3 separate regions of the Homo sapiens genome follow, and all the other regions are linked to region 3. The links are contacts of gene promoters, found by promoter capture Hi-C in blood cells and fetal thymus (Javierre and others, 2016). All regions are on one chromosome and are shown on one strand. Each heading gives the region's core, a stretch centred on a gene start or on the middle of the fragment in contact. The rest is flanking DNA. Distances are from core to core; before and after follow the strand shown. Region 1 has its middle 67 kb from the start of MIR4290HG. Region 2 has its middle 55 kb from the start of NXNL2. Region 3 holds the start of SECISBP2 (SECIS binding protein 2).

Region 1 (5,001 bases), core at 711-3,210, 790 kb before region 3:
CTCAGGGTCTTATCACCTCCAAGGGCCCCACCTATTAATATTGTCACCTTGGGAATTAAGTTCCAACATATGAATTTTGGAGTGATACATGCATTCAAGCCATAGCATATCCCCAAAGTAGTAAAGACAGCCAGATCAAGGGCCTGGGGCCATTGGACAATTGAAAATCCTCACCTTTTGGCAGGGGTTGTAACCAAAAATCAGGCAATATTTGCATATCATCTGGCAATGTTTGCGAGCAATAAAGAGACAATATTTAAAAATATATAATGGTGATTTTTGTCTCTTGGTGCCCAAACTTATATCTTTTTATAATAAAAATAATCAGAGTAAGGTGCAGAGAGAGGCAAATTATTGCAGATTTTAAGACAGAAGTGAATCTCCGAAAAGTGTAAAAAAATGTATATTTGATTTTAGAGATTCTGTCATTTGCCCAGAATTTATACATCACTTACCATGTGCCAGGCTCTTTTGGGTGCAAAGGAAAAGAATTAGACAATCGCTGTCCTTCATGGAACTTCCAGTCCTAGAAAGGAGAAAAATGTATTTAATAAATCACAACATATTAAGTGATGGTATACAGAAAATGCTGTGAGAATACAGACAAAGGAGTGGGAAAGCCAGCATCAAGTAACAGATAAGACTTCCTGAAGATGTCACACTTTTGGATACAGTTTGAAAGCTCTCTAGCAGTTCTTCAGGTCAAGAAGAAAGGAGCAACATTCTAGGCAGAGGGAAAGGAGGGCATGATTGAGTTTGTACTCCCCTAGAAGCAGATCCCAGTACAAGGATGTGCAAGTAGTTTATATGGGACTGTAGGGAACACAGGGAGGTAAATGAGAAAATGTTGAAGAAAAGAAGGGCAACTGGAGAAAACATACAGCATAAAGTTAGCAAGCAAAGTGAGCATTTGGAACCTAATTTCACAGGGAAACTGGGAAATGGTGAAGAGCACACACCTAGAGGAGAGGGAGCTGGGGTATTTATACAGTCATATACTGCAGCCCATTGGCGATGGTCATACCTGGCCTTTCATTAGAAGGGCAGTGTAGTTTTGACTTGGCTTTGGAGAATTCCTAAAGGCCCAAATACACAGATACTGGCAGTCAGAAGTCACTGGAGCATTCTAAATAATAATGCCTGAAAAATTTCGGCAGGGCAAGAGCAGATTCTGCTACAAAACATGAGCCACTGAGATGCAAACAAAGCAAGTGTGTTCACAGATCATTCTCTGGGGTTGGTCAGAGCAGCCCAAGATAAACCTGGAAATGCTGTTGTTTATTTCCTTCTTTATCATACTTCGACAGGTGGGAACTGCTATGGTTTGAATGTGTTCCCCAAAAGCTCATGTGTTGGAAATTTAATTCACAATGCAACAGTGTTGGGAGATGGGGCCTAATCAGAGGTGATTGGGTCATGAGGGCTCTGCCCTCATGAATGGTTAATCTTTGGAGTGGTTAGTCAAGAGTGGTTGTTATCAAGTGAGTCTGGCCTGGTTCTCTTTTGCAAGTGCTCAGTTGCCCATCCACCCTTCCACCATGGGATACCATGGGATAATGCAGCAAGAAGGCCCTCAGCAGATGCAGCTGCCCGATCTTGGACTTCCCAGCCACCAGAATTATTAGCTAAGTGAAATTCTATTCTTTATAAATTCCCCTGTGTGTGGTATTCTGTTATAGCAACACAAAATGGACTAAGATAGGGGCTCATGACTGGGGAGAGACTGCTGCTCCCAGGGCCAGCCAGTTCTCACAGACAGCAGACTCTCCTGGGAATGGGCTTTTTATACACAAACCAATGAACCCAGAGCCCATGTTCCATACCACCTCCTCTGTCTGACTGTTATACTACAGGAGGCAATGTTCCTCTGCCCTAGTCATCCCAGGGCCAGCAGCAGACAACTAGAGACATCCCTTATGCTCAGAGTTCATGGGAATTAAACTAGAAAATTCTAGGCTGCTTACTCTGCCTTGCCCATTTCTTCCTTTGAAAACCACAATAAAAGCACTTTCCCATGTTTTTCCCTCTATCCTCTCTGCCTCCTGGCCAAGCCTTGTGCCTCCCCATGTGGCCCAGCATAGAGTGCTTCCTGTTTCTAGGGAACTATGAGCAAAAACTTCTTCCTCCATATCAGTCATTTCTGTGTTGTTTGCCCTACCACACCTGCTGAAGACAAATTTCAGGTACATTTTAACACAGAAGACACAGTGCAAACAGCCATAGGGGGCCAGGGCAAAAGACCCGGAATGTCTCCTCTGTGTCCCTGGAGATTTTATTCTTGGTAAGTACACACACTTGCATAGTAATTACCCTTACTAAGTTGAAAGACGAGTTTGCTCAACTGGATACAGTCTCTGATGACAATTTTCTTGGATGTCTTCCCTCTCTAATAGCCATAGGACTCTATTTTCTTTCTGGCATTCAAGTTCCTTTGATGTGTCTAAATGCAGCCTGTTTCCTCCAACCAGCCTGTGTTTATGCTGGAAATACAGATCTGGGGGACATGGGGGTTGGGGCTGACATTTGCTGTGTCCAGGATCCTGGTCCCATATGCTGCAGTGTGAAGTTTTCACAAAGACAGTGGCTTCCCTAGATGGACTTCCTGCCTGAGCAAAAACGGGTCATCATCAATAACAACAATAAAAATCAGCAAAGTAGTCATATACACATAACAGTTTTCCTGAGTAGAAGATCAGTTGGAAGAAGGACAAGCAAAGACTCTCCTGGGAGTGGGTTTTTTATACACAAACCAACCAACCCAGAGTCCATGTTCCAAGGGCTGAGTCACTGCAGTAGGTTGTTGTAATTGTCCAGTGAGAGAGAGCGTAGCCTCTAGTGGAATGGCAGGCCTAGGAAAGAGAGGCAGGGAAACCAATGCCAAAGGGTTTAGGAGGTGTCTGCATGGAAGAGTGCAACTAGTGGGCACGTGGAAATGAGAACGACAAGGAGGAAGAGGAAGAAAGGATGATTACTAAAAGTCTTGCTTAATTAGGTAGTGCTGTTTCTAACCAAACTAGAGACTATGGAGAAAGAAGCAAGTTTAAAGAAATAAAAAAAAAATTAAGTTTTGGACGTAGGTATCTGTGTTAAAACCAAATGGTTATGTCTAGTAAGCTATCTGAATTATGAAATATGCATAAATATCCACACTTTGGCTGGAGATTAAATTTGGAAATATCCCATGGTAACTGAAATCCTGGCTGTGTACAAAGTCCCAGAGTCTGAAATGAGAAAAGAAGAAAGCAAAAGGTATTCACACTGACAGCTCTGTTGTCAAATGGAACTCTGTTATTACAGCTCCTTGGCTGAGTATAGAGATGTTCATGTTAACTGGAAAAAAAATAACATGTTAACTGGAAAAAATAAGTATGGTGTATCAGACTAGCCAGTGCTATCACGGAAATCTTTGTCATGTTGGTTGAGAATGAAGTTATTCTTACTTCAAGAGAAACAGAGGCCTGAGGAGCACTACTTTTAAATTTGTTTTCTAGGAGACCCATGCTATGTTGCTAATAAACAGTTTTGTTTTGACAGCTTCCATTTGCTATAAATATAGTTCCAAGGACAGTGTCCAATATTTCCTGATTCGAATCCAGCCTGAGCAGGTGTGTTCACTGCATGAGTCATGCCATTAGCTGCCAGGACTGTGACTTGGCCACAAAGGCACTTAACGGAATAAAAGCAAGCTGGGAAGAGAACAAGGCTTCTGGGATCACCGTTGCTTGGAATTTGGAGAGTCTCTGATAGGTTTGCTTCTTTCTTTTCATTACTGTTAAAAGCAATAGCACCAACCAGGGTTCCAAGGAGAATTTCTACATTAATAGATAAATATTTGATCAAACACAAGACCTTTCTTATTCCCTTTTTAATTCATAGTGTTACTGCATTTGCACTGATATGCTGCTCATGCTAGTTATGCCACTCAAAATACCCACTTTACCAAAAGTAGGTAACTTCCTCAGAGGAAGCTCTTTTTTTTTTTTTTTTTTTTTGAGACAGAGTCTTGCTCTGTCGCCCAGGCTGGAGTGCAGTGGCACGATCTCGGCTCACTGCAAGCTCCGCTTCCCAGGTTCACGTCATTCTCCTGCCTCAGCCTCCCGATTAGCTGGGACTACAGGCGCCTGCCACCACGCCTGGCTAATTTTTTGTATTTTTAGTAGAAATGGGTTTTTACCATGTTAGCCAGATGGTCTCGATCTCCTGACCTCGTGATCCGCCCACCTCGGCCTCCCAAAGTGCTGGGATTACAGGCATGAGCCACCACGCCTGGCTCAGAGGAAGCTCTTTAATGAAGAAGTAACATATTAAATATAACTACATTAAGAACCTTTCACTTTATTCTACATAAATATACTCACAATTTAATTAGTCATTGAAATGAGGAAGTCACATGCAATGCATTTCAGTTGAAGGTGTCTGTCTTAAAAGAGTGATGTAAGGGGGTCTTATAGTACCTTTATGGATGACAGCAGTGTCTGGGACTAAGGTCACAGAAGTGAAGATCTGAGCCCACGTTCAACAATCTTATAAATTACAAAGGAATGTTTAGACACAAAATCTAGACAGTGAAAACAGAGATGCTGCAGTAGCAGGCCTAGAAGAGAAGGAGGAATTTGCAGTCCTTTTTCAAATCACCTTTTCATAAATGAAAACAAACTCATACAACAACAAAATAGGGCATGCATTCTGATTCAGGATGCTGTTTTAAAGTTCTGTTCAGCAGTTTACATGGACTTTGATATCATAACACTCTGATTCAAGTGCTAAATATAAATAGGGTAAATATTTCTTGGCTTCCAGTGGGGTAATGGTAAACCCAAATTAGAGGCAGCACCACGGTAAAGAGCTATGTTGGATGAAATCCTGAACCACATTTGTGGGAAGGACACAGGGCTGGCCCAGTGAAGTCACTCTTCCAGTGAAACAGCAGAGCTAACATCATCCTTCCAGGAATCCTGCAAAAGAAGCCACCTGGGATGCAGTAAGATGACAGTAGCTTTC
Region 2 (5,017 bases), core at 692-3,191, 730 kb after region 3:
GAATGCCCCGGCCCACTGACCTTTCACCCAGCCGCAGATGGTAGACTTTTATTTTTATTTTTACCAACTCTTGCTCCTGCTCCTGATCCCTTAAGGTTTGAACTCTGTCCTACATGTTGTTCCCCTCTGTGTGCCCATTGCTGCAGGTTCATTATACAGGTAAACTCGTGCACAGGGGTTTGGTATACAGGTTATTTTGTCACCCAGGTACTAAGCATAGAACCCACCAGTGATTTTTTTGTAATCCAGCCCTAAACCTAAAATAAAAGTTGAAAAAAAAAACACAAAAAACTACCTATCAGGTACTATGCTCACTGCCTGGGTGATGATATCATGGTAGTACTCACCCCCAAACCTCAGCAACATGCAATTTATCCATGTAACAAACCCACATACATGCTCCCTGAACCTAAAAACATAAAATAAAATAAAAAAATAAAAGAACCCTGTCCTACATGGATAGAAATTATTTCAAAACATACCTCAAAAATGCCAGGACCTCATGCTCATTTGCCACTTGGTTAAGTCACAGTTATCCTATGTGACTGTTAGATGAGTTTCCTTCAAACGTGAGCCCTCTTCTTAACAGAGAGTTGTTCCTGACTTGGAAACTCTGCTTTTCAGTGGACCATAAGGTGCCCCTCACTCATTGCAAAGCGCAGGGAGGTTCTTGAGCTCTCCTGGCTGGAACACAGCAGGCAATTTCCTCCGTGAAGCTTAACTTTTATTTTATATAAAAACAGATAAATTGTATGTACAACATATAATTTTTAACTTACAACAAAGTATAGCTACATAATTTTATAGTGGGGTTTTGTGATGACACATTAGGTCAAAGTAAAGAGCACAAAGTTGAACTACAATGCCGCCAGTTGCAACGCTGCCCACACGAAGGGAGCTGGTCCACAGTCATATGTATGGCACGTTCGTGTCCTCACAGCAACGACACAGCTTCTGAGCTCCATCCTCTGCCTGGAACCAAGCAAGTCTATTTTGCTGCTAATAGTAAGGCCCATCTCAATTTCAGAATTTGTGTTAAAGAATGAAAGAATTCTGTGTTGAGACTCAACAAAATACTGTTGTCGAAATGTGCGCAGCTGCTGCAGGGTCCTCATTCACTGGCCTTGCCAGGAAGCCACAGAGTCGGCAGGCAGAAAACGATGCCCACATTGAGTGGAGAATTTCTGTTTCTAATGAAATCTTCCACGCAGTTGATGGCCTGCATACCCTGGCCTATTTTCCACAGCAAACAGAGTCCTTCCAAAAGATTCATCAACTTAGCAGCATGCATTACATATACACACGATAGACCCTTTCCCCCTCCATTACTGCCTCTCAGCTGACTGCATTTGGCCTGAGACAACTTCATGGCTAGAAAAATCAATAGTGTGGAGGGCAGCCACGCCTTGCCAGTGGATCCATTATCTGTCTCTTTCCTATCTCCATTAATAGAGGGAAATGTTTTCTTAGTGTTATGCGAATTAGAGAAAGAAGCAGTGTCTGCCACAGAATATTGTATTTGTTGAAATTGCCTCTTTGGTGGAAATTTGCCATAAAGTATGTCTGACCAAAGGCTAAAATCACCCAATATTCCTGATTCACTTTCCCTCTTCCTGCTCCCAAGAGAGCATCGGCATTGGAGGTGCATGCTCTCCAGGGGACATGGATGAGAGTGAGGCAGGATATTTTCTTGACCCTTTTGCAGGACTCACGAGAAGGGTGCCCCTTTTACTCAGCTGACCATGCTCAACCCCTCGCAGGAGGGAGCACATGAGCGAACCAGTGCAGGAACCAGCCCGCCAATTCTGGCTTCTGTGCAGACAAGAGCAAACTCGGTTTACTCCAGCCCACCACACTCCATTTCTTGCCAGAGGGAGCGAGTAGGCAAGCCAATGCAGGAACCAGCTGGCCATTTTGGCGCCAGCAGAGAAAACTCAGTGCAGGCCCTGCGTCAGCATCCAGGTGGGGGCGCCTGCGATCCCAAGGCCCCAGAGGGCATGTTGCAATACTTAGTTCTACTGTCCACAGACAGCAGTGTGTTATCAGCTCAGTGGGCCTTTTGTCTCGCTGCGTGGGGCAGCTGCCCTCCACCAGTGAGGGCAAAGGGCCAGTGTGACAGCCTTTTTGGTACCCACATTTGGTAGGTCTTGAATTCTTGTCCAGTTCCAAGAAGAATGCGGTCACATGAACAAATTGAAGGATGATGAATGTGGAAATTTTATTGAGTGATGAGAGTGGCTCTCAGCAGAGAGTGGAACTGGAAAGGGGATGGAAAGGACAGGTCACTCTCCCCTGAAGTCAAGCAGCCTCTCTGCCTCCCTCCTCTGAAATCAAGTTGCCTCTCTCTGAAGTACAGCTGCTTCTCTCTACCAGCTAAATCTGGGGTCCTTATAAGCACAGGATGGGGGGTGGGGCAGGCCATAAGTAGTTTTGGAAAAGGCAACATTCAAATGGAAAAAACACATTACTCAGAAAAAACTAATAGGGAGAGAGTAGGCAAAGAGGGACGGAAGTTCTCACTTTAAGCCGTGGGTGTCAGGCTTTTTGGCTTGAAAGTGGGGCTTCACCAGGGACCAACTCCTGTCTGTCTAGAGTTTCTCTGCCTCCTGCCTCTATCAAGAGGAAATAGTAAAAATAAGTGAGGTGACAGCCATGCCCTATTCCAAGTGTCAATGTACAGTGGGGCACAGGCAAGGCAGTGGGGCCAGTGGCTCCCTGCTGGGCCTTGTCCTCAGATGGGCACAGTGGGTGGCTCGCAAGAAATTTGAGAGGTCTTCCCCACTGCCTTGCATTGATTCTGGAGCCTGTGTGTGCCAGCCCTCTGATCCCTGCAGGGCCACCCTCCCTGAAAGCATCTAGAACAGGGGTGATGCTGGGGTTGCCCCACACCACGCTCAGCCCTGCCCTCAGCCAGGCTCACCCCAGGGGGACAGGGTATGTGAGAGGCGTGTCTACACACCCCTACACAAGGCCAGGCCAGTGGGGACTTCTGGAGGCATCACAGGTGTGCATGTGGCAAGGGGCACATTTAAAGCTGGTTTCTAGTTCCTGCAGAGAAGAGGAAACTGGAGCCTCTCCCCTGTACCCTGTGTGTGCACAGCCCCATTTTCAACCTTGCTTACCAACCTTGGCACCATCCCTGGGAACGTTCCAGTTTTTAAGCTTCTCTGCTCCTCTGTTTAACTCTGGCCCTCTTGTCACACCAGAGCAAATCCTGGGACACAAAAGTATCCTAGCAGGACATGGGGTCAACAGAAAAGGCTACGGAGTGGTAGAACAAACTAAGATTTGGAGCCCAAGTTCAGTTTCCCTTGAGGTTTCTCCATGGAACCAAGTGAAAATGATACCCCCCACCCCTCCGCTCACACTGTTCCAGCGTGGACACACACACCACAATCTGCCATGAGCAAAGGAGAATTCTGGGCAGCACAAGCTATTGTGGCTAAATCCAGAATTAGGGTCCATTTTCCCCTTGCCCACAGCTGGTTGCCTTCTCTGCTCATGCATAGAGCAGACACTGAGGCCCAGGGCACCCTGCCCCACAGCCCAGCAGGGCAGACAGAGGCAGATCAAATCTCTCTTTCCTTTGTGTGATGTTCTTGGGTATCTTTTCCCACTATTTTCTGTGGGCAGAAAAGGGATGGTATAGAAATGTGTCATCTCCCACCCACAAGACCTCCACAGTCAGGAGAGAGGTAAGGATTGTTCTGCCAGCTCCTATTCACTTTATTCATTATTGAAGACTTTAAAGACGAGGTAATGAGACAACCTGGACCCTGTTGAAGTATATCAATAGTAGAATTTTTAAAAACAGAGCATGGCCCCTCTGCACGAAATCCACAAGTTTCTGTGTGTCTGCGTAGCTGTTGGGAGAGAACAGGCAGGACTGACACCACTCCTGCCGTTCCACCAACCAACCTCCCTGGCAGGGCCTTGCCTTTGGGGAAGCTCAGCCCATGAGTGGTATTAGTTCCTGTCTTCATCCATTTGGGTGGCTATAATGGAATACCATAAACTAGGTGGCTTATAAACAACAAAAAATTATTTCTCACAGTTCTACAGGCTGGGAAGTCCAAGATCAAGGCACCAGAAGACGTGTTGTCTGGCCAGGTGAAGGCTCCTTCCTCAGAGACAGCGCCTTCTCGCTATGTGGTAGAAGAGGTGAGGCAGCTCTCTGGGGTCTCTTTCAGGAAGGCACTAGTCCCATTCACGAGAGCTCCACCCTCATGACCTCATCCCCTCCCACAGGCCCCACCTCTTACTGACATCACACTGGAGAGTCAGTTTCAGCACAGGAATCTCAAGGGACACAAACATTCAGGCCATAACAGTTCCTTTCCCATGATCTTTAGTGCATTGACCACTGAAGATCACCAAACTAATCATCTCCATATGTACCCTACCTCCAACTGTCTCTATCTTCTCTTGCCCCTCCCCGCAACCCCATTTCCTGCCTGCATAGGAGAGACCTGCTCAGCAGCCTGGAATCTATATGGAAACATCTTCACAGACACAACACATCTAGCAAGAGCAAGGGCTGCAGCCATGGAGGACCCTTCAGAGTCCCTCAAGGCTGTGTTTGGCCTGGGACATTCCACAGGCACGATGAGCATGAAGAAGAGGTTCTGAGAGGACCTTGTGTGCCACCCTGACCTCATGCACACCCTGCTGGATGACCACAAAAAAGGAACAGATCCCACCACCTACACCTGGGGAACCCTGAGACCAGCCCTCCCTGCACACCCAGGGACGCTCCAGACCAGGTCCTGACCCACGCACGGGGATATGGGGACCAGAGGCCCACCCACACACTCAGGGACATAGGAACCAGAGCCAACTGTCCTTGTCCTCTTCTACCATGTACCTCAGGAGCTTAAGGCAGTGGCTTATGTGCCTGGAAAAGCAGAAGATTGCAGAAATCGTGTTTTGGAGGGAAATGAACTTGCAGGGGTTTTTTGGTGACAGGAAATGCTGTTCCCTGCCTGGATCTTAAATTTGTTTGCGAAGCATCTTTCTG
Region 3 (4,348 bases), core at 715-3,214:
TTGCCCTTCCCTCCACATTTCATCTCCCATTAGATATATGATATATTTTTAAACCATATGAACAAATGAACCTTGAAACGGGATTTTTTTTTTTTTTTTTTTTTTTTTGAGACAGAGTCTCACTCTGTCAGCCAGGCTTGAGTGTAGTGGTGCTATCTTGGCCCACTGCAACCTCTGCCTCCCAGGTTCAAAGGATTCTGCTGCCCCAGTCTCCCGAATACCTGGGATTACAGGTGTCCGCCACCATACCTGATTAATTTTTGTATTTTTGTGGAGACGGAGTTTCACCATGTTGGTCACACTGGTCTTGAACTCCTGACCTCAGGTGATCCACCCACCTCGGCCTCCCAAAGTGCTGGGATTACAGGCGTGAGCCACAGCGCCTGGCCTGAAACTGCATTTCTTATTAACAAATGCAATGCAGTCTCTACTATTTCTTTGCCGAAAATAACAATGAGTATGAAGAAAAAAAAGGGGAGTTAAAGCTTCTGTTTTTGGCACAGGATACAGTTAAGTTGTGCTACTGGCTCAGACTCTTCTTGGTTGAAGAGCATTCTCTCATCATCTGCAGAACTTTAGTGCAGTAACTGCTGAGTATTTGAAAGTCTAATCACCATTAAATCCAAAATGTAAGCCCCTAGGTAAGACTTTTAGAAAGATACATACTCTGTCACTGGTGGTTCCTGAACAAACGGATAGTATGTGGCTGCAGAGCTGGGGAAGACACATGCTTCTGAGGACTCTAACCATGCCACATTGAGCCCGGCAAATCTGGGGACAAATGGTTTGACATCTGCTGATAACTTGATGCCCTGAGGAAAAATATGAGGTTTTGGCCACAAACATTCAGAGATCAAGCAAATATAAACAAACAAAAAGACCCAAGAGGTGTTCCTAATAGCCCCAGAAATGTTCCCGATGTTGTTTAAAAACTTCTGCCTCGTAAAGACAAGAACCTGCTTGCTAACGATTTCTCCCCAATGCTTTTTTTTTTGTAGAAAAGGCAGTAGTTCAAACATTAAAAGTGAAAAATGACAACGAATTCAAGTGGAAATAAAACAACACAGATTATATAGTTTAGATCTTGGAATAAGGGTGTTTTTACCACAGATTCACTTAGAAATAATAGAACTGCACACAGTACAACTACTGCAGTCAAATACACGTGGACTGTTTAACTACAGCACCCAAAACACACTGCAGACGTTTATTTCCATTACATTTTCTTGAAAAAGTTGCACAAAAGCATATGCATTTTACTCATGAACCACTAAGTCTTGCTTTATTGAAATACCAAACCTTGCTTTGCTAGAAAATATTATCACCACGAGCCTTTGAAATTTCAATTCACTAAGATTTCTTTCTTTAGTTTTTAGTGACGTAGTAAGAGATTTACTTTCACCGAGAATTTTATGGGTCTAAAAATGATGCAAGCGATCGCCAGGGCTCCATCTAGTGGTAATGCTGAGTACGTAGAGCGGAGAATGACGTTCAGAAAAACGCAGGATCCTTTAAAACAATCTATCCGTTCCCAAGAGCGCGGGAAGCTCGCCAGAGTCCCCCCGCCCCGACTGCGGGGAGCGCCGGGCTGGGCCGCAGTCACTGCGCTGGGTGACATCGCACCACAGACGCGGCGCTAACTGTGGGCGGGGTCTGTAGCCGCTGACCGCCACCCCAAGGCGGACCCGAGGCGGGGCGCGAAGATCGCGGCCACCCGGTAGGGCGCTCCCGTGCCGTCACCAGCATCCGACCCACGCCCGCTGGACCAGCCCCGTCACCGCCCGGCCGAGCCCCCAGTGCGAGGCAGGCGGACGGACTGAGGCTGCCGAGAGAGCCCCCGTCGGCCCTTACCTCGCTTTCGGGCTCCCGCGGCCCCTCCGACGCCATGCCGCGAGGCGCGGAGGAGGCCGCGTCACGGAGGCCAGCAGCGGGCCGTCGGCTTGCCGGACAGACAAAGCGTTTCCGCCCCCGCAGGCGACGCCAGGAAGTGCGTCACAGCAAAGCGACAGAGCCCGCCCTTTCTTCCGGCCGGAAGTACGCGGCGGCGGCACTGGACCTGCGCGGGCAGCACGTGGAGGCAGTGGGGCGCTTGCGGAAAATGGGGACCCCCAGGAGTCCTCTGGGCTGGGGACCCACCGTAGCTTGCGGGAGTCTTGGATCTGCCTTTTAGTGCTGGGATATCGGAGATAGTCTCCACCAAGGCAGTAGCGACTATAAACAAGAGTTAGGCCGTGATTTACTTTTCTCCCCTGGGCCTCACGAGTCTAGCGTTAGGACGGGATGGGGTAGTCTGGAAAGGCCTCTCGCTGAGGTGACCTTTGAGCAGTCACCTGAAGAGAAAGATTTACTAATAAGGAAACTGAGGAGGCCGAGATTACTCTCACCCCCGCCACTGCATTTCCCTAAAATTTCCCCAAGATTGGTGACTTACAGGAATTGCATACCCTGTAGGTCCTACAAACCTGGAAAGCCTACAAGACTCTTGATGGTATCCTAAATTTCCAGAAACCTTAAGTTTGGAAGTAGCCACAGAAAATAATTTAAAAATCGCTCGGTTTCTTTCAAAAATTAAAAAAAGTGCTAAGATATGGTCAAGAGATGGAATAGTATAATTTTCACGAGAAAAAAAAAGTTCTACACAGAGCAAATTCGTTAAATATTGAGAGAAATGTATAAAGTGCGGCAGGGATAGGAGGTTGACCAAAAGTACAGGGAAGAATGCAGAGTGGATTTCAATAGATGGAGGAGGAACTTTCCTCTCACTCAAAGGCTTGGAGGAAAGTGCAAGTGGATTTAAGGAACAGAAAATGTCAGCAAAACAGGCTATTTGAGGAATGGGGATTAGGTTGAGGCAAATTGTAGGTTTCCTCTGTCCCTTGCACAGACGTTAACTCTACCATTGAATACGAAGTATTTCAAGCAAGTAAGGCAGGTGCAGCTCCAGTTTTTTCAGATTTCTGTCCTGGTGGGTCTCAGTTCACTACACAGCCTCTAGCAGAAGTGATCCTTAGGGTCTGGTCTGGCAGGAATTTATGCTGGAAGTTTAGGGGTAGCTGTCGCCTTCCTTTCAGCACTATTGGGTCTACCCGGAAGTGTAATGAAGTTTACTTGATTTTGTCATGTTTCTGTTGGTTACCCTGGACACAACCTATGGTAGTGGCAGTAGATTTTAGGATGCTGCTAATCACAACCTTCAAAATTTATTGCCCTCATGTGTAAAGACACCCTTTCTTAACCAATGGACCTGATGTATGCTGGCTGCTCATTTAAGATGTTTCTATAGCATAGCAATTAATTAGAATAACTCCAAAACACTTTCCTAGCAGCTAAAAAGGCAAAGGTGTTTTACAGTGTTTTTGAACTTTTAAAAATGTGGTGATACTTTATAGGAAACATTATCCCTACTTTGGAAATGTAGAAGAGGATAAAAAAGAGGTTTCTCCCAAGACCACCAGTGGCCAGTGAAGTAGCCCAGATAGTATTAATTTGGGCTTTCCTGTTCTAGACAATTCTCCAGGAATTCAAGAGGTAAAATCTACTTTGGCTTTAGTTTAAACATATCCCTGGTAATTAATTTCTTCATTAAGTGAATTAAATGGTATCCAGATCATACCGCACTATTTTAAACTCATTTAACATCATCTTTAAGGTAAGTTAACTTCCTCAGAGCTAAAACTATAACACTGAAATCAATTTCAATAGTCACAAATTTCAATAGTCACAAATTAAGAAAATATACCTCAAAAACTTGAAACAGTGATAAATGCAACATACAAACTTTATTGAACAAAAGTAAACTGTTTCAGTAAACTCAAACAGGCACTTAAGAGAAAAACTGACTGGAAGAACTTTTATCTTAAACATCTTACAGTAACCTACTTGCAGTTGCATTTAACTGAGCTCTGTTGCTGTGAAGAATACAGCTCATGCACAGGTATGGATGAAAGATTTGTACATTTCTCAAGTATTCACTGAATACTACCTTATATACACATATACATTAAATTTGAAAAAGATTTGACGATCCCCAGATAAACTTCATTTTTGTTGATCTTTTGGAAGAGGTCGTCTAAAGAGAAGAATATGTGGTTCTGTGGAAAGAAAATGTTTTGAATCATTTTAATATGATTTTCATATACTCAACAGAAATTCAAAAGTATTCTCAACTAAGCCAGAATAAAATAAACTAAGTCCACTATTAATTGGTTTGAGGTATCCAAAATGATTTTTTTTTCACAGTTACTGTCTACAGTAAATAGATTAAAAGTAAAAAGATTACCTCTTTATAGGGAAAAACACCTCCTTCAAATCACCTACAGGATCTCATACTAATGCTCATCCCCATAGA

What was found. The method cuts DNA at HindIII sites, captures the fragments that hold promoters and counts their contacts. A CHiCAGO score of 5 or more calls a contact.
Region 1: a fragment that was not itself captured here is called in contact with the fragment with the promoter of SECISBP2 in region 3 in 3 of 17 cell types (total B cells, naive B cells and fetal thymus); the score reaches 9.1 in total B cells.
Region 2: a fragment that was not itself captured here is called in contact with the fragment with the promoter of SECISBP2 in region 3 in 1 of 17 cell types (M0 macrophages); the score reaches 5.0 in M0 macrophages.

What each region holds. Positions count from the first base shown.
Region 1 is chr9:90,105,853-90,110,853 of GRCh38, reverse strand. No RefSeq gene overlaps it. Among named protein-coding and RNA genes, the nearest start is that of MIR4290HG, 67 kb to the right of the region's middle. The HindIII fragment of the contact is 6,474 bases long and covers 1-5,001 here.
Region 2 is chr9:88,587,724-88,592,740 of GRCh38, reverse strand. No RefSeq gene overlaps it. Among named protein-coding and RNA genes, the nearest start is that of NXNL2, 55 kb to the right of the region's middle. RefSeq lists an enhancer at 2,838-3,343. The HindIII fragment of the contact is 2,446 bases long and covers 719-3,164 here.
Region 3 is chr9:89,316,116-89,320,463 of GRCh38, reverse strand. It overlaps SECISBP2 (SECIS binding protein 2), which reads right to left and starts at 1,964. Exons shown (of 17, transcript NM_024077.5): 1 at 1,852-1,964; 2 at 667-812. The coding sequence starts at 1,887. It overlaps CKS2 (CDC28 protein kinase regulatory subunit 2), which reads right to left. Exons shown (of 3, transcript NM_001827.3): 3 at 3,761-4,091. The coding sequence ends at 4,039. RefSeq lists a silencer at 1,605-1,924 and an enhancer at 2,095-2,314. The HindIII fragment of the contact is 8,029 bases long and covers 488-4,348 here.